7 separate regions of the Homo sapiens genome follow, and regions 2, 3, 4, 5, 6 and 7 are each linked to region 1. Evidence: promoter capture Hi-C in 16 types of primary human blood cells and fetal thymus (Javierre and others, 2016). All regions are on one chromosome and are shown on one strand. The core of a region is centred on a gene start or on the middle of the fragment in contact, and the rest is flanking DNA. Distances in the headings are between cores, read along the strand shown.

Region 1 (2,562 bases), core at 26-2,525:
CCTCAGCCTCCCAAGTAGCTGGGACTACAGGCACCTACCACCACTTTGTATTTTTTTTTTTTTTTAGTAGAGTTGGGGTTTCACCATGTTGGCCAGGCTGGTCTCAATCTCCTGACTTCAAGTGATCCACCTGCCTGGGTCTCCCAAAGTGCTGAGGTTACAGGCGTGAGCCACCGTGCCTGGTCTTGAATGAGAATGATCCCTCTTCTGGGAAGCCCACTCTGGCATTTGGGGGCCCAATAATCTTTTTTTTTTTTTTGACAGAGTTTTGCTCTTGTTACCCAGGCTGGAGTGCAATGGTGCAATCTCAGCTCACTGCAACCTCCGCCTCCTGGGTTCAAGCAATTCTCCAGCCTCAGCCTTCCGAGTAGCTGGGATTACAGGCGTCCACCACCATGCCCAGCTAATTTTTTTGTGTGTTTTTAGTAGAGATGGGGTTTCATCTTGTTGGCCAGGCTGGTCTAGAACTCCTGACCTCAGGTGATCCGCCTGTCTTGGCCTCTCAAAGTTCTGGGATTACAGAATAATCTTTAGACATTTCTTAATCGAACCACTGTCTTGTTCTTTCACCTTTTGTTAGATAACTATAAAAAAAAAAAAAAGATTGTTTTGGCCGGGTGCGGTGGCTCACGCCTGTAATCCAGAGACCAGCCTGACCAACATAGAGAAACCCTGTCTCTACTAAAAATGCAAAATTAGCCGGGCGTGGTGGCCCATGCCTGTAATCCCAGCTACTCGGGAGGCTGAGGCAGGAGAATCCCTTGAACCCGGGAACTCCGGTGAGCCGAGATCATGCCATTGCACTCCAGCCTGGGCAACAAGACCGAAACTCCGTCTCAAAAAAAAAATTGTTTTAAGGCCCTTTTCTTGCATAAAGCTTGAAACTCCTATATAAGTAAATTTCCTGGTTTGTATTTTTGTAGAATAATCTCGAAGCATACATAGTTCTTATTTGTGGGAAATTAGAATTCTAAGGCCTTTGGACGCTGCAAAGCCAGAATTTCTCGCGTGAAGAACACGCCCTATAGCATCCTCCCCGCCACCTCCACAGCACCCCCTCGTGTTCACAGCATTGACAAGCATGAATAGCGCGGGGCAGGACAAGGACTACATTTCCAATAAAGTCTAGCATTTATAGTGACGTCAGAACGGAGCGCGGGCTGGCTTTCTAGAGCCACAGCTTTTCCATTGGCCAACTATTGGAGGCGCCTGCGCAAATGGTGCAGTCCCGCCCCCTCCACCCTGTGACGCGCCTGCTGGGCCCGAGCTTTTTCCTGGGATAGCGATGGAGACGCCGGGCGCATCAGCGTCGTCCTTGTTGCTTCCCGCCGCGTCCAGGCCCCCGAGGAAGCGCGAGGCGGGAGAGGCTGGGGCTGCGACGAGCAAGCAGCGGGTCCTGGACGAGGAAGAGTATATCGAGGTACGACCTCGGTGCGGACGCCGGCGACTTCTGGGCCCATCCTCTGCTTCAAGCTCCTCTCAGGTTCCCTCTCTCGGGTGTTGACACTCCGTCTCCTCGTGGAAGTGGAGGAGCCGGGTGTGGACGGTCCCACGAGTCAAGTAAACAGGGCAGAGGAAGACGTCTGTGGTGGAAGAGGCTGTAGTAGTGTTGTCAGGGAAAAGAGAGAGCGGCTCTCTTTGTATGGGACGGGGGTCAGGGAAAGAAGATTTTCTGTTAAAGTGTGAGTAGGAGTTTGACAAACTGGAAGGATGGTGGCAAAGAGGGCTTTCTAAAGAGCGGTGGCAGCAAGTGTGAATGCTGGGGTTCCTGGAAAGAGACCGCAGTTGTGACAGCATCTCGAGTGAGTGGACCTGCGTCGCCCCACCACACGCACACAGAAGGAGGAGCTGAAACGGGGATTGGCGGAAGTCAGTTTGGTTTTAGACCTGTTTAATTCGGGACACCTTTTGGGATATGTAGATGGATGGCTTTAACGGACGGTTGGGTGCCCAGATATGCAGCTCGGGAGCAAGGTCTGGCTGGAGGTGCAGACTTGGGAATCTCAACTTGTGGTAGTGACTGGCTGAAGTTACTCAGGAAAAAGGTTTATTTTTATTTTATTTTTTGAGACGGAGTCTCGCTCGTCGTCCAGGCTGGAGTGCAGTGGCGCGATCTCGGCTTACTGTAACCAACCTCTGCCTCCTGGGTTCAAGCCATTCTCCTGCCTCAGCCTGCCGAGTAGCTGTGACTACAGGTGCCCGCCACCACGCCCGGCTAATTTTTGTATTTTTAGTAGTGGTGGGGTTTCACCATGTTGGCCAGGCTGGTCTCGAACTCCTGACCTCAGGTGATCCGCCCGCCTTGGCCTCTCAAAGTGCTGGGATTACAGGCGTGAGCTACCATGCCCCGCCAGGAGAAAGGTTTAGATTGGAAATAGAAAGTCATGTGTGGAATGAAAGTGACAACACCCACATTGGTCTGGCTTGTGGGGAGCCAGCAATGGAGAATGAGAATGACCAGTTAGCAAGGGCGAGAGAGAAGGGTTTCACGGACTTCAGAAGAGTGTTTAGTAATGTTAGAGGTTGCAGCATGGCTACCATATGGGATGCTCAACCCCACTA
Region 2 (2,562 bases), core at 23-2,522, 510 kb before region 1:
CTGGGGTGTGGTATCCTCCTGAGGTGTGGCTGTGAACCTGGGGCCTAAAGTCTACTTAGAGTCCAGTGTCTACCTAGAGCCTAGTGTGACCTGGGGCCCTATGTAAACCTGGGGCTTGGTATATTTTAGGTAGCGCCTGGGCCTTTCCTTTTTATGACTAAATAATATTCCACTGTATGGATCTTTTACGTTTTTTTAATCCACTCATCAGTTGATGGCCATCTTTTGACTATTATGTATATATGTTTATAAACATATATGTGGAAACAGGATATTGCTCTGCCACCTGTGTTGGAGTGCAGTGGCACGATCGTAGCTCACTGCAGCCTCCAACTCGTGGGCTCAAGTCAACCTCCTGCCTCTCAAAGCACTGAGATCACAGGTGTTAACCACTGTGTCCCACACGCATTTTTAATTCTTTTAAGTATATGCCCAGGAGTGGAATTGCTGGGTCTTGTGATAACTCAATGTTGAACTTTTCGAGGAACTGCCAAACTGTTTTCCACAGCAGCTGCATCATTTTATATTCTCATCAGCAGTGCATGAGGGTTCCAGTTTTTTCATATCCTTGCCAGTACTTATTATTGTAATATCTTTTTGATTATAGCCATCATCCTAGGGGGTATCTCATTGTGGCTTTGATTTGCATTTCCCGGATGGCTGATGACATTGAGCATCTTTTCATGTGCTTATTGGCCATTTGCATATCTTTGGAGAAATGCCTATTCAAGTCCTTTGTGCATTTTTTTTTTAAAACAGGATCTCACTCCCATCACCCAGGCTGGAGTGTGGATGTCATCACGGCTAACTGCAGCCCCTACTTCCCAGGCTCGGGTGATTCTCTCACCTCAGCCTCCTGAGTAGCTGGGACTACAGGTGTGTGCCATCACACCCAGCTATTTTGTGTGTGTGTGTGTATATATTTTTAGTAGAGATAGGATTTCACAATGCCACCCAGGCTGGTCCTGAACTCCTGGGCTCAAGTGATCCTCCCACCTCAGCCTCGCAAAGTGCTGGGATTACAGACCTGAGCCACCACACTCAGCTCCTTTGTACATTTTTAAATTGTGTTGTCTTTTTATTATTGAGTTGCAAAAGTTATTTTTATATTCTAGTTACAAGTTCCATCAGGGACTTACATATGTATGATTTGCAAAGATTTTCTCCCATTCTTTGTGTTGTCTTTTTCACTTCTTTATAGAGTCCTTTGAAGCATAAAAGTATTTACATTTATTGATTTAATGAATACTTTTATTTTTAAATAATTTATTTAATAATTTATCATTTATCTATTTTTTTGGTTGCTTATGCTTTTGATGTCGTATCTTAGAAACCATTGCCAAATCCAAGGTCGTGAAGATTCATACCTCTATTTTCTTTTAAGACTTTTATAGTTTTAGTTCTTATACTTAGTCTTTGATCAATTCTGAGCTAATTTTTGTATATGGTATGAGGTGGAGCCTAACTTCATTCTTTTGCATGTGGATATATCCAGTTGTCTCAGCACAATTGTTGAAAAGAATACTCTTTCCCCCATTAAGTCTTTTTGGCATCCTTATCAAAACTCAGTTAGCCATAAATATGAGGGTCTATTTCTAGACTCTAAATTCCATTCCATTCATCTATATGTCTTTTTTTTTTTTTTTTTTTTTGAGAGAGTCTCACTCTGTTGCCCAGGCTGGAGTGCAGTGGCGCGATCTCGGCTCACAGCAATCTTCGCCTTCCGGGTTCAAGCAATTCTCCAGCCTCAGCCTCCTGAGTAGCTGGGATTACAGGCATGAGCCACTACACCTGGCTAATTTTTGTATTTTTAGTAGAGATGGGGTTTCTTTCTTTCTTTTTTTTTTTTTTGGACAGAGTTTTGCTCACTGCAACCTCTGCCTCACGGGTTCAAGTGATTCAGCCTCCCAAGTAGCTGAGACTATAGGCGCACACCACCAAGTCTGGCTAATTTTTTTATTTTTAGTAGAGACCAGGTTTCACCATATTGGCCAGGCTGGTCTCAAACTCCTGACCTCAGGTGATCCACCCATCTTGGCCTCCCTAAGTGCTAGGGTTACAGGTGTGAGCCACCACGCCCGGCCTATATGTCTATTTTTATGCCAGTGTCACATCGTCTCCCTCACTATAGCTTTGTAGCAAGTTTTGGGATCAGCAAGTGTGAGTCCTCAACATTGCTCTTATTTTGTTTTTCAAGATTGTTTTTGTTATTCTGGACCCCTTACATTTCCATATGAATTTAAGATCAGCTTGCCCATTTCTGCAAAGAAGTCAGGTGGCACTGAGTTTGTAGATCAATTTGGGGAGTATTGCATTATTACAGTTGATCCTTGAACAACCCAGGTTTGAATGACACAGGTCCACATATGAACACATTTTCTTCTGCCTCTGCCACCCCTGAGGCAGCAAGGCTAACCCCACCCTTCCTTCTCCTCCTTGGATGTGAAGGCAGCAAGGATGAAGATCTTTATGATGATCCACTTTCACTTAATGAATAGGAAGCATATGTTATCTTCCTTGTGATTTTCTTAATAACATTTTCTTTTCTCTAGCTTACTTTAC
Region 3 (2,562 bases), core at 36-2,535, 480 kb before region 1:
TCTGTTTCCTTTTCTCCTCCCATCCCAAATTTCTGGAGCCTCCAGCCTCCATTCTCCTCTCCAGCCAAGGGCTGTGAGGCGCTGCCTCTCTTTGGATGACTGCTCTGTGTAATGCTCGGAGTGCACTGATCGGTCACATGACAGTCGGGCAATTAGGAGACGCAGGAGAGTCCCCGGCCCCCACTATGATGCTTCTCCCTGCAGAATGCATCTTCTCCTCCCCTCACCACCCTCCTCAGCGGTGCTCTGCCAGGAGGACTACTGGAAACGAGCAGCCCTGGGCTCTCTGCTTCACAGCCAAGGGGGGACGTTGCCGGGTGGGAACCTTCAGCTCCTGTGCGGTGATATTCAATCCTGGTTCCAACAAGGGGCGGGTTTCCACCTTACACCATCAGGGCGCACACTGCTCCCATAAGAAAAGAGATCACCAGGGATTAAAAAATATAGGTAGAAGGAATAAGTTCTAGTATTTGAAAGTAGAGTAGGAAAGTTATAGTTAACGATAATGAATTGTGTATTTCTGGGGTTGTTTTGTTTTGTTTTGAGACGGAGTCTCACTCTGTTGCCCAGGCTGGAGTGCAGTGGCACAATCTCAGCTCACTGCAACCTCCGTCTCCCAGGTTCAAGAGATTCTCCTGCCTTAGCCTCCTGAGTAGCTGGGATTACAGGTGCCTGCCACTGCGCCCAGCTAATTTTTTGTATTTTTTAGTAGAGACGGGGTTTCACCATGTTGGCTAAGCTGGTCTCGAACTCCTGATCTCAGGTGATCCACCTGTCTCAGTCTCCCAAAGTGCTGGGATTACAGGCATGAGCCACCACGCCCGGACTGTATATTTCAAAATAACTAGAATTGGAATGTTCCCAACACAAAGAAAAAACAAATGTTTGAGGAGATGAATAACCCAACGACCCTGATTAGAACATTATAGATTATATACATGTATCAAAATATCATATGTGCCCCAAAATATGCACAATTCTGAAATATCAATAAAAAAGAAAAGAGATCTATTACACAGCAGGGTGACTACAGTCGATAATAATAAGGTGTCGAACATCAACAGACGAATGGGTGAAGCCAATGTGGTACAAATACACCGTGGAGTACTACGAAGCCATGAAAAAAGAGTGAGATCCTATCATTTGCAACAGCATGGATGGAATTGGAGATCATTATGTTAAGTGAAATAAGCCAGGCACAGAAAGACAAATTTTACTCATTTGTGGGAGCTGAAATTAAAATTCCCAAAGACACCTTTCACACGTCTGAAAGCCCCCTTCTAACCACTTCATTCACAGCAGCATCATTCTCAACAGCCAAAAGGAGGGACCCACCCAGTGTCTCTCCACGGATGAGTGGAAAAACAAAATGTGGTGTAAACCTGCCATGGAGTATCATTCCGCCTTTGACAGGAAGGAACTTCTGACACAGGCCACAATATGGATGAAACGACATTCTGCTGAGTAAAACCAACCAGACACAAAAGTTGCATGACTCCAATTATAAGAGTCGTCAAATTCCCAGAGACAGAAAGTAGAATCGTGGTTGCCAGGGGCTGGGAGAAGAAGACATGGGGAGTTTAATGGGCACAGAATTACAGTTTAGGAAGATGAAGACCTTCTGGAAATGGGCAGTGGTGCTGGTTGTACAACAGTGTTAATGTACTTAATACCACAGAACTGTACACTTTAAAATGGTTAGAAAGAATGGTAAATTTTGGCCGGGTGCGGTGGCTCACGCCTGTAATCCCAGCACTTTGGGAGGCCGAGGCGGGCGGATCAATAGGTCAGGAGATCAAGACCATTTTGGCTAACACAATGAAACCCCGTCTCTACTAAAAATACAAAAAATTAGCCAGGCGCGGTGGCGGGCGCCTATAGTCCCCTGCTCGGGAGGCTGACGCAGGAGAATGGCGTGAACACGGGAGGCGGAGCTTGCAGTGAGCCGAGAGAACGCCACTGCAGTCCCGCCTGGGCGAAAGAGCGAGACTCCGTCTGAAAAGAAAAGAAAAGAAAAGGAAGAATGGTAAATTTTATGTTATGTAGTTATGTATATTTTACCATGATTTAAAAAAATGACCACGAAAGTTACCCCTTCCAAATGGCAGCACTCCATCAGGAAGGGAGCTTCGAGGCCCAGGGGCTGGCATCAAACCACCCAGCTTGACAAGGGATTCTGCACCCTGGAAGAAGACACACGGCCGGCAGCAATGGTCCCAGGACTGGCGCACGCCATTGGGGAGCATCACGCCCAGGCGCAAGAGGGACAAGGCCTGGTGCCCTGGAGCCTCCTCAGCTCTGACCAGGCTTCCTTCTCCCAGAGACAGGGTGAAGCTGGCCTGGACACGGCCTGGGGTGCCCTCCATGACAGAGCGTTCACATACTTTCACGCTACAGGTTTGCTCCCGCCCCTGCCCCTTCCCCGTCAAAGTTCCTACAGCTGCCATGGGCTCTGCCGCGACCAAACAGAAGACCCAGCCCATAAGCCCATCTTGCCATCTGGCATCCTGCTCCAACACTGGGGCAAGGCAGAGTCTTGGCAAAGTGAAGCAGAAGACAGGC
Region 4 (2,562 bases), core at 28-2,527, 470 kb before region 1:
AAATGCCCAGCTCTGAGTGCAGGTCCTCAGCTTTACTCCTGAATGTGAGCCTCGCTGAGTCCGAAGCCGGTCGCAGGCCTGGGAAACCAGGGTGGGCTGAGGAGGCAACGGGAGGCAGAAGGGCCAGCAGGAAGGATGGGACCCCAGGCTAGGCTGGGGGGTCAGCAGCAGACATGGGTTGAAGGGGAGTGGGTCATGGGAAGGGCCTGTGCAGGATGGAGCCCAGCAGGGGATGGGAGAGGACACAAAGCCAGGCAGAAGGCGGTGATGGCAGCAGAGAGGAGCACCCAGGGGCCGCCGCTTGGCCACGAGTGTAGGCCACCCAGGGGCCGCCGCTTGGCCACGAGTGTAGGCCCACGGTGCCCTCAGCACAGTGCCCCAGGGCTCGCCAGCCACCCAGGACCGAGACTCGTAGTGCTGGGGGGCTGCAGCTCCTTCCCATCCTTTCCTAGGGCTGCCTCTAGCCCCCATCTCTCCAAATTAGCAGGGGAGCTGGAGCCCCTAAGACCCCAGCCTCACATCATCCTCACGCCTCTGTTGGGAGCCATGCCCTGCTGCACCCGAATCTTCTGTTTCTCCCTGACCATGGGCTCCTGAAGTTCGAGGCCTGTGGTTGTTCCTCTCTTCAACTTGGTTGCTGCGGTGAGTTTCTGGGAGGTTTGTCTTACTAGATTCTGTGCTTCCCTCCACCATGGGAACCTGGAATCTCTGTTTTGCTTTTTAGCATGCAGGTAATTTCCAGCCTTTACATCTGCCTATCAGACAAATCCTATCTTCATACCTCAGGCAGTATCACCCCCAACGTGTGGTCTAAATTTGGACTTCTGTATGCATGAACTCACCTCGAGGGCAGCCTCAATGTAGGCGTAGTGGGGGGATTGGGGTGGCGGTGGGGCTTGTTGCTGCCCCTGTGTGAGCTTCCTGCTGAACACCAAGGCGAGGGTTTACAAATTCCTGGGTCAGTGGAGGGGCCTCTGGGCATACGGGCTTTGGGAGTGGGGGCGCCCCAGCACGGGGAGGCACCCTGGCTGCCTCAACTAGAGATGCTTTGCTTATTTCTTCCATGACACAATTACCAGGGAAGATTTTATTTAAAGAAAGACTTTACTACTACAAATCGAAACAAATCGAAAGCCACTGTATTATTGCCTTTCTCCCTCTTGTTTTGTGGAAAACCACATGGCCCACTGTGATGCAAAATGAGAACTAAGACCTGCTAAGGAGCAGAAGTGGGGGTGTGAGGGGGGAGGGGCTCCACCAGCGGCAGGTGTGGTGGTGCTGCAGGTGAGACATGAAGGAAACAGCCTGGCGTGGCCCTTAACAGGCCAAGTCCCTGGGCCCTTCTGCCGCAGACTGCACCTTCCCACAGCACTAGAGCCGCTAGGCTGGGGGGTTGTCCCTCACCTCACCAATCTGCAGAGCAAGCAGCCCTGTCCCTTGGCTTGCTAAGAGCTGCAGGGGAGTCAGTGACTTACTCAGGAGCAGGCAGGTCATGGGGAGCCAGCCTCTGCACAAGCTCTACCCTGGGCAGCAGTCACCGCTGTGCCCCCGCCCCACAGAAGCCACAGGGCTGTGACAGCCCCCACAATGCACATGAGGAGGGGCAGGAGTTGGCTGCAGAAAGGGAATGATGGGAAGAGGAAAAATGCTGGCTCCTGGCAGCTGAGCCTTTTTTTTTTTTGAGATAGAGTCTCTGTTGCCCAGGCTGGAGTACAGTGGAGCAGTCTCGGCTGACTGCAACCTCAGCCTCCCAGGTTCAAGCGGTTCTCCTGCCTCAGCCCTTGAGTAGCTGGGATTACAGGCATATGCCACCACAACTGGCTAATTTTTGTATTTTTTAATAGAGACGGGGTTTCACCATGTTGGCCAGGGGGGACCTCCAACTCCTGACCTCAAGTGATCCACCCTCCTCGGCCTCCCAAAGTGCTGGGAACCACCGCACCCGGCCTTTTTTTTTTTTTTTTTTTTTTTGAGAAAGTTCTTGCTCTGTCACCCAGGCTGGAGTGCAGTGCAACAATCGCAGCTCACTGCAGCCTCGAACTGGCCTCAAGGGATCCTCCCGTCTCAGCTCCCTGAGCAGCTAAGACTGCAGGCACATGCCACCATGCCTGGTTTTTTAAATTTTTTCTTTTTTTAGTAGACACAAGGTCTCACTATGTTGCCCAGGCTGGTCTCAAACTCCTGGGCTCAAGTGATCCTCCTACCTCGGCCTCTCAAAGTGCTGGAATTACAGGCATGAGCCACGACACCTGGCTGCAGCTAAATTTTGAAGAGAACCTTGCTCTGTTTATTTTCTTTCCTTTCCTTTTTTATTTTTTATTTATTTTTTGAGACAGGGTCTCACTTTTTTGCCCAGGCTGGAGTGCAGTGGTGCAATCTCAGCTCACTGCAACCTCCACCTCCCTGGCTTAAGCAATTCTCCTGCCTCAGCCTCCAGAGTGGCTGGGACTACAAGCATGTGCCACTATGCCTGGCTAATTTTTGCATTTCTCTGTAGAGACGGGGTTTTGTCATGTTGCTCAGGCTGGTCCCGAACTTCTGGACTGAAGTGATCCTTCCCAG
Region 5 (2,562 bases), core at 30-2,529, 450 kb before region 1:
GCTGGGCAGGCAGAGCCCCTGTGGCCTGTGTGGCCCGTGGCCTCAGGGGGAGCTGGAAAAACAGCAGATGCATTAGGAATGAAGAGCTGTAGACATCCGCATCAGACCCCACAACACAACACACTATTTTTTACTGTATTTTATTTATTTTGTTTTGTTTTTAGAGATAGAGTCTTGCTCTGTCACCCATGCTGGAGTGCAGTGTGAAATCACAGCTCACTGCAGCCTCAAACTCCTTGGCTCAAATGATCCTCCCACTTCAGCCTCCCAAGTAGCTGGAACTACAGGTGCATGCCACCATCCTTAGCTAATTTTTTAATTTTTATTTTAGGAGAAACAGGGTCTCACTCTGTTGCCCAGGCTGGTCTTGAACTCCTGGCCTCAAGTGATCCTCCCGCCTTGGCCTCCTAAAGTGCTGTGATTACGGGCGTAAGCCATTATGCCCAGCCAATACATATATTTTAAAATGAAAATCTCTATAGCTATGGACTTGGAAGTCTATAATTTGAAGGCCCTCTATATTAGATGAAGAGGCCACAAAGCTTCCCTTTTAACAAACACGTTGAGAGATGGCACCAGGCACCGTGTAGCCTTCATGCTGGACCAGGCTGTTCTGTGGAATCTTGAGAGGCTATGCATCCTGGGACCACAGTAACCAAATTGCTGAAAACAGCCATGAGGAAACCCAGGTGTGTGAAGCCAGGCTCAGTCACAGTCAGGGGCACCTGCAGCATCACGCAGGCTTGTTCTCACTACCGAGGCGATTCTGCCAGGTACTCTGCATGCACCCTGCTGTCTGCTGTGCTTCTTCCTGCTCAAGGGATGGGGAAAAGACATGCCTGGAGCGAGGGCACTACCCCCAAGTCCTGGCAATGCCCTCATAGGATGTCTGGGCTGGAGGATTCCCTCAGGCTTGGCAAGCTTCACCTTCCTGCTCTGTGAGGGAGATGGACTACAGTATGTGGCCTCTAAAGATGACCCCTTCCACAACACCCTACTGTCTGTCTGTCTGAGGAGCACATGCATCTGTTCTCATGTCCACAGGCTTGTCTGCCTCAGCCCCAGCTCGCTGCAGCTTCTACGGAGACCCAGGTGAGCAGTGTTGATTGCAAAGTTTAGAGATTTCATTCACACTGATTTTCAGTAATAGTATGACAACAATAATGAGATCAGCCATCCTTACATTATAGCATCTGCATTTGTCAGGTCCCACTTAAGTCATTTACATATATTTGCTCATTTAAACTGCACAATCACTTCAAGAATGATAACAGTATCAGTACCTCCATTAGGGGTGAGGAAACTGAGGCACCGAGAGTCCACGTTGCCCAAAACTGAATGGCGAGTCACTGGCACCCATTTTAAGATACACACACAGAGATGTGTGTAGAGCATATAAACAACATATGTATATATGTTTAAAACCAAAAACCTTCATTGTTGTTCACTGTATCCAGTTTTGGAGAAAATGGAACCTTTGCGCATTGCTTGTGGGAATGCAAAATGGTGCAGCCGCTGTGGAAAACAGTTAGGTGGTTTCTCAAAAATTTGAACACAGAATTACCATATGAGCCATCAATCCCAGTCCTAAGTGTATGCCCTAGATAATTAAAGCAGGAACTGGAACAGAAGCTTGTGCGCCCATGTTCACAGCAGCATTCTTCACAATAGCAAGAGATAGAAGCAGCCCAGGTGTCCAACAGATGAATGGATAAACACAGTGGGGCATCATTCAGCCTCAGAAAGAGATGAAATCCTGATACTGACACATGACACAACATAGATAAACCTGAAAAATATTGGGCTAAGTGACATAAGCCAGACACAAAAGGACAAATACCGTACGAGTCGTTATATGGGGTACCTAGAATAATCAAATTTGTAGAGCGAAAGTGAGATGGTGGTTGGTGGTTACCAGGGGCTAGGGGAGGGGGAATGGGATTTAGGGACAGAGTTTCTCTTTAGGGTGATGAAAAGGTTCTGGAATATATATACATATATATACACACACACACATATATATATATATATATATACACACACACACATATATATATATATATATACACACACATATATATATATATATATATGTATGTATGTATATATTCATTCCAGAGAGAGAGAGAGAGAGGAAATCACAACATTCCTCTCAGTAAGATCAGTTTGGTTTAAGATGGAGAAGGGATTGATGGAAGGCAAAACTATAGAAAAATGAATTTCTGTAGTAACACAGGTGAGAAGAAATGAAGAGTTACTTAAATAGCAACTGAAGAGATCGATTAGAGAGATATTAGGGGATTAAAATTGATAGAACTTGGTAATTATTGGAATTGAAAAGAGGTAGAAGAAGGAACCAAAAATAATTCCCAAGTGTCTGGTGTGGCCAACGGGATGGGACAGTGGCTCTGCTCACTGGTTTAATTATTCAGGAGCTTAGAAGGACCATTCCATAATTCTCCTCCATCACTGTTCTAGGAGTTACCAGCAGGTCATGAGGAAGAAGATAGTTATTTTTAAAAAATCATTTGAGGAGTACTGTTCAGCGATCAAAAGGAATAA
Region 6 (2,562 bases), core at 42-2,541, 340 kb before region 1:
TGAAACCCCATCTCTACTAAAAATACAAAAAATTAGCTGGGCGTGGTGGCACGTGCCTGTAGTCCCAGCTACTCAGGAGGCTGAGGCAGGAGAATTGCTTGAACCTGGGAGGCAGAGGTTGCAGTGAGCCAAGATCGCGCCACTGCATTCCAGCCTGGGCAACAGAGCGAAACTCCATCTCAAAAAAATAAAAATACAAATAACAAAGAACAAGAAAAAAATAGAATAAAAAAAACAGAGACCAGGAAACAGAAAATAAAATGTCAGACTTAAGCCCTAACATGTCAGTAACTAAAATAAATGTAAGTAAGCTAAGTTTATCAATTAAGAGATAGAGAATGGCTTTAAAAAACATGATTTAAAAATATGAGCCAACTGTATGCTGTTTTAAAAAATTCACTACAAATGTAACAATATAGGCAGAATGAAACTAAAGAATGTGAAAAGATATATCGTGCAAACATTAATCAAAGGAGAGCAGGAGTGGCAATATTAATATCAGATAAATCACACTTCAGAGCAAAGCAAATTACCAGAGACAGAGTGGGACACTAAGTGAATAAAAGGGTCAATCCACCAAAAGGACACCACAATCCTAAATGTGTGCGCACAAGAGAGCTATAAATACGTGAAGTAAAAAGTGATAGAACTGGAAGGAGAAACAAACAAATCTATAATCAGAGTTGGGGTCTTCAATGTCCCTTTCTGAAGAGTTGAAAGTATTACTAGCCAGAAAAGCAGCAAGCAAACAGAACTCAACACCACCACCAACTCTCAGTATGTAAGTGACATTTCTAAAAAACTCTACCCAACAACAGCAGACTATGCATTTTTTTGACTGACTGCAAATGATACTGTATTTTAAATTTTGGTGTCCACGTATTTATGGCTAGCACGCAGAAATAATAAATATTGTTTGTTTTTATGCAGGTATAAATCTAACAAAAACAGAAAATTTATACACTGAAAACTGCACAATGCTGATGGACGAGAAAGGAATGAGCCATTGATACAAGCAAACATGGATGAATCTCCAAGAATTATGCAGAGCGAAAAAAAGCCAATCCCAAAAGGCTACATACTGTATAATTCCATTTCCATTTCCATAATATTGTTGAAATGAAATTACAGAAATGGAGCTCTCTAGTGGTTACCAGGCAGCAGACAAGTGGGTGTGGCTATAAAAGGGCAACAGAGGGATCCTTACAGTGCTGGAAATGTTCTGTATCTTTTTTTTTTTTTTTAAAGCAATACCCATGGGTTATTTTGGCAGTTTCTGAATGCATAAATGGAATAGACATATTCAGTTTCTGGCAGAACTTTCACAGTGATTTCTAACCTTTAGAGTGCCAACTGAAAAATCACATGATTTATAAATTTAGAAAGGAGACTTTCTTTTCTTTAGAGATAGTCTCAGTTGCCCAGGCTGGAATGCAGTTGTGTGCTCACAGCTCACTGCAGCCTCGACTTACTGGGCTCAGGTGATTCTCCCACCTCAGCCTCCCAAGTAGCTGGGACCATAGGTGTGCACCACCACACCTGGCTAATTTTTGTAGTTTTTGTAGAGACAGGGTTTTGCCATGTTGCCCAGGCTGGTCTCCAACTCCTGGGCTCAAGTGATCCGCCTGCCTTAGCCTCCCATCCTGACCGTGATATTATACTACAGGATTTTACCATTGGGGGAAGCTGGGCAAAGTATATAAGTGATCTCTCTATATTACTTCTTACAACTACATGTGAATCTGTAATTATCTCAAAAGAAAAACTTTAATTAAAAAAAAGCCATGGTCCTGGTGAGGAAACTTTTTGCGGGTAATGGAATTGTTCTCTATCATGGTGGGATGGTGGTTGCATCTTTATACATTTGTTAAATCTCATTGAATTGTACCACCTAGTGAATTGTGTAGACATTATGCCTCAATAAAGTAACAAAATTCCCACAGCCTGAGATTTCTTTGACCCTGCCACAATGCATGGTGGGGTCCTGTCCCCTCCCTTGTGGCTACTGGATGCTGAGGTACTCCAAGGCTGGTCGGGAGAGCCATGCAGTGGCTGCCCGGGTGACTGGAATATTCATGCTGGAAGCCTGAGCAGTCATGTTGTAAGGAAGTCACATTCAATGGAGAGACCCTGCAGGTGCTTGGCTCAGTAGTCCTGGTTTGGAGCCCTCCCAGCAGATGTCTGAGCCATGCTTCCAGTTCTTAGCCATTGAGTCCCCACCTGAGGGCCCAGATATCACAGATCAAAAAGATGTCATCCTCACTGGGCTCTGCCCAAATTCCTAACCTACAGAATCCATGAGCATAAGGAAAAGGTTGTTTTAAGCTGCTAGGTTCTGGAGTAATTTGTTAAACATCAGTAGGAACCAAAACAATTAAGTCTAGTTATTCTCCTTATTTTACAATGGCACACAGAGGTTAAGTCACTTGCCTACAGTCACAAAGCTGTTATAGCAGATACAAAATTTGAAACCCGTGACCTGAGCCACGATATTATAGCACCTGTAGATTAAGTATAATTATGGTTATTTTTATAGCGGACTCTCATCTTTGCTGGGGTCCA
Region 7 (2,562 bases), core at 16-2,515, 330 kb before region 1:
CAGCCCTTCCTTTATGTGCCTGTGCACCTCTTGGGTCAGCACGTCACCAGTCCAGCTTACTTGCCTCTGGCCTTGCTTTCAGCCCACACCTCAAGGTCCATCAGAGAGAGGGGGCGTCCTATGTCATGACCCTGCTGAGAGCTCACACTGCCCGCTGGGCCCAGGCCCTAGGTTCTACCCCGTGTGGTGCCCCTCCCCTTCCCAACCACTCGCACACCTGTCCCCAGCCTGTCTTGCCTAATTATCCACCATTTCTGAACTGCCTGGGCTCCTCTTCCCTTCCACGCCTTTGCTCAGGCTGCCACCTCTGCCTGGATTTCCTCCCAGGTCTGCCCGCCCAGTGCCCAGCCTAAAGAACTCGGCCTCTAGGAGCCTAGCCCAGTAGCTCTGCCCCCTCCTGCCAGCTCTTCCCACAGCACCTGCAGCATCTGGTTGTGGTTTTCTTTGTTGGAAGGTTTCTACCTTCAAACTAGAAACCTTTGAAGGTCGGGATTTTGTCCAGGGCATGGTGGGCACTGAAATTATTTATGAATAAATGAATGAACACATCACTTTTTAAAATGTTGACTTCAGAAAATCACAAGTCTATGCCAGTGCTGTGTTACCAAGTTGCCAGGTTCCTCCTTGAGCCGTGCACTGTGCTCTCACAGAGGGGGATTCATCTGCCAGAGGAGTGTGGGGTTGAGGGCAGGATTGTGGGGAGGCTCCTTCTATGGGAAGGCGTGGGCCGAACAGGTGTCCCTTCATAGGAGCTGTGCCTCATAGTCTCTCTCTTATTTTCAGGCCGACTTAACATTACCTATCCCATGCTGTTCAAACTGACCAATAAGAATTCGGACCGCATGACGCATTGTGGCGTGCTGGAGTTTGTGGCTGATGAGGGCATCTGCTACCTCCCACACTGGGTGAGTGGGGCTGCCAGGGTCTCTAGAGAGCAGCCACTTAGGCAGAGACATCTCCTGCACTCGAGAGTCCTGGCCCTGGAGCAGGTGGCCCCGCCTACTCCTCCTGCTCAGCGTCTTAGCCTGAGCCGACCCAGCGAGAGAGAAGGGATCCAGAGCAGTGCACTGTGCCTTATGCGGGCTGGTGGGCTCTGGACGCACCTGTGGGCCACTGTGCTGTGGGAGTGGCCTTTTCTTTGATAGTTGCGCAGCTGAACTGTTCATCTGTGATTTCCTGGGTGAGGCGTTTTTAAAAATAATGGAGCAACAGTATTTTTTAGGTGGTCTAGTAAGTAGGGTGTTTGAGGTTTTTATGCTTTTCCCCTACTTTTAGTAGTCTGTCACAGCATACATGTTTTCAGTTACCTCTGACGTAGTCTCCCAAATCTCTCAACTGAGCTGCCATGGGAGTGACGTCTTTTTCCTTACAAGCAGGCTCTCTTTGGAAAGTTGACTTGAAGGATGTCATTGCAGATCTGGGCTGGGATATCCAGGGCGTGTGAGCCACCAGAGCCTGCCCTCAAGGCTGTACCCCTCAGAGAAGTGAGCAGAACTGTGCCAGTGCTGTAGGGAGGAGCCTGCAGCAGTGAGAGTTCCACACAGGTAGCTGTGGCCCACTTGGCTCCTTCTTCTCCTCACTCCTCTCCCCAGCTCTGGCACATTAGGGAAGTTCACAAAGGGACCTGCTTGTCCTTCTCTTTGTGCTTGGATTACATCAGGCATACTGAGAGACCCCGCAGTGAGCTGTGGGCTGGAAACTCTCAGGAGTGCTTGCTTGGCTGCCACCAGGGAGGTGGTCTGAAGCACAGCCCACCTCTCCTGCTGATGCCCTATCATGGTGGCCGCCAGACGTTCAGAAGGGATGGCCTTAACTAATATTTTCTGAGATTAAATATGAATTGAAATTCTGGCCAGGTACGGTGGCTCACGCCTCTAATCCCAGCACTTCGGAAGGCCAAAGTGGGCAGATCACTTGAGGTCAGGAGTTCGAGACTAGCCTGGCCAACATGGTGAAACCCCGTCTCTACTAAAAATACAAAGACTAGCCGGGTGTGGTGGCACGTGCCTGTAGTCCTAGCTACTTGGGAGACCGAGGCAAGAGAATGGCTTAAACCCAGGAGGCTTAGGTTGCAGTGAGCCGAGATCATGCCATTGCATTCCAGCCTGGGCGACAGAGCGAGACTCCATCTCAAAAAAAAAAAACAACAATAATATGAATCAAAATTCTGAAGGTCTCTTTCCTGCTGTAGCAGGTGACCTTGCCCATGCTGCCATGGTAGTGGCATCCTCTTCAGCCTGGGTCCCAGGGTCCTTCCCAAGGTCTGGGCCTGGCCAGTGTCTCCCCGACAAGAGCCCTGCACTCCCATTGCACCTCCTAGTGCCTGGCCTTCCCATGCTGCCTCCTCACCTCAGCTGACTAGGCCTGCCCAACCTGGCCTGTTGGGGGGCTTTTATGCCTCAAAGCCCAGATTGGCTCACCTGCCCTCCCCAGTATTTGCTGCTCAGCCCCTTGCTATTCTTGTGTTTGTCTGCAGGTGCCCCCAAGGGCCTGAGGCCACATTGTGCTCATCCGGTAGAACACCTGGTCACTGAAGCCACTCTAGGTAGCTGAAGTGTCAGG

Evidence for each region. The method cuts DNA at HindIII sites, captures the fragments that hold promoters and counts their contacts. A CHiCAGO score of 5 or more calls a contact.
Region 2: a fragment that was not itself captured here is called in contact with the fragment with the promoter of ESS2 in region 1 in 2 of 17 cell types (erythroblasts and M0 macrophages); the score reaches 6.2 in erythroblasts.
Region 3: a contact is called between a fragment that was not itself captured here and the fragment with the promoter of ESS2 in region 1, in 16 of 17 cell types (total CD8 T cells, fetal thymus, total CD4 T cells and 13 more). The highest score is 44.5, in total CD8 T cells.
Region 4: a contact is called between a fragment that was not itself captured here and the fragment with the promoter of ESS2 in region 1, in 10 of 17 cell types (total B cells, naive CD8 T cells, naive CD4 T cells and 7 more). The highest score is 10.9, in total B cells.
Region 5: a contact is called between a fragment that was not itself captured here and the fragment with the promoter of ESS2 in region 1, in 4 of 17 cell types (naive CD4 T cells, total B cells, naive CD8 T cells and 1 more). The highest score is 6.1, in naive CD4 T cells.
Region 6: a fragment that was not itself captured here is called in contact with the fragment with the promoter of ESS2 in region 1 in 5 of 17 cell types (total B cells, fetal thymus, naive CD8 T cells and 2 more); the score reaches 7.8 in total B cells.
Region 7: a contact is called between a fragment that was not itself captured here and the fragment with the promoter of ESS2 in region 1, in 9 of 17 cell types (total B cells, naive B cells, naive CD4 T cells and 6 more). The highest score is 14.5, in total B cells.

What each region holds. Positions count from the first base shown.
Region 1 is chr22:19,143,364-19,145,925 of GRCh38, reverse strand. ESS2 (ess-2 spliceosome associated protein) reads left to right here and starts at 1,275. Exons shown (of 10, transcript NM_022719.3): 1 at 1,275-1,420. The coding sequence starts at 1,286. RefSeq lists an enhancer at 1,700-2,206. The HindIII fragment of the contact is 3,418 bases long and covers 880-2,562 here.
Region 2 is chr22:19,652,909-19,655,470 of GRCh38, reverse strand. No RefSeq gene overlaps it. Among named protein-coding and RNA genes, the nearest start is that of SEPTIN5, 60 kb to the left of the region's middle. RefSeq lists a silencer at 1,831-2,054. The HindIII fragment of the contact is 4,518 bases long and covers 1-2,562 here.
Region 3 is chr22:19,627,143-19,629,704 of GRCh38, reverse strand. No RefSeq gene overlaps it. Among named protein-coding and RNA genes, the nearest start is that of LINC00895, 62 kb to the right of the region's middle. RefSeq lists a cis regulatory region at 2,123-2,203. The HindIII fragment of the contact is 4,083 bases long and covers 1-2,562 here.
Region 4 is chr22:19,609,450-19,612,011 of GRCh38, reverse strand. No RefSeq gene overlaps it. Among named protein-coding and RNA genes, the nearest start is that of LINC00895, 44 kb to the right of the region's middle. The HindIII fragment of the contact is 5,630 bases long and covers 1-2,562 here.
Region 5 is chr22:19,589,204-19,591,765 of GRCh38, reverse strand. No RefSeq gene overlaps it. Among named protein-coding and RNA genes, the nearest start is that of LINC00895, 24 kb to the right of the region's middle. The HindIII fragment of the contact is 711 bases long and covers 924-1,634 here.
Region 6 is chr22:19,488,012-19,490,573 of GRCh38, reverse strand. All of the region lies in intron 5 of CDC45 (cell division cycle 45), which reads right to left. Among named protein-coding and RNA genes, the nearest start is that of CDC45, 9.4 kb to the right of the region's middle. The HindIII fragment of the contact is 7,762 bases long and covers 1-2,562 here.
Region 7 is chr22:19,470,030-19,472,591 of GRCh38, reverse strand. UFD1 (ubiquitin recognition factor in ER associated degradation 1) reads left to right here. Exons shown (of 12, transcript NM_005659.7): 4 at 784-905. Among named protein-coding and RNA genes, the nearest start is that of UFD1, 7.9 kb to the left of the region's middle. The HindIII fragment of the contact is 3,344 bases long and covers 1-2,562 here.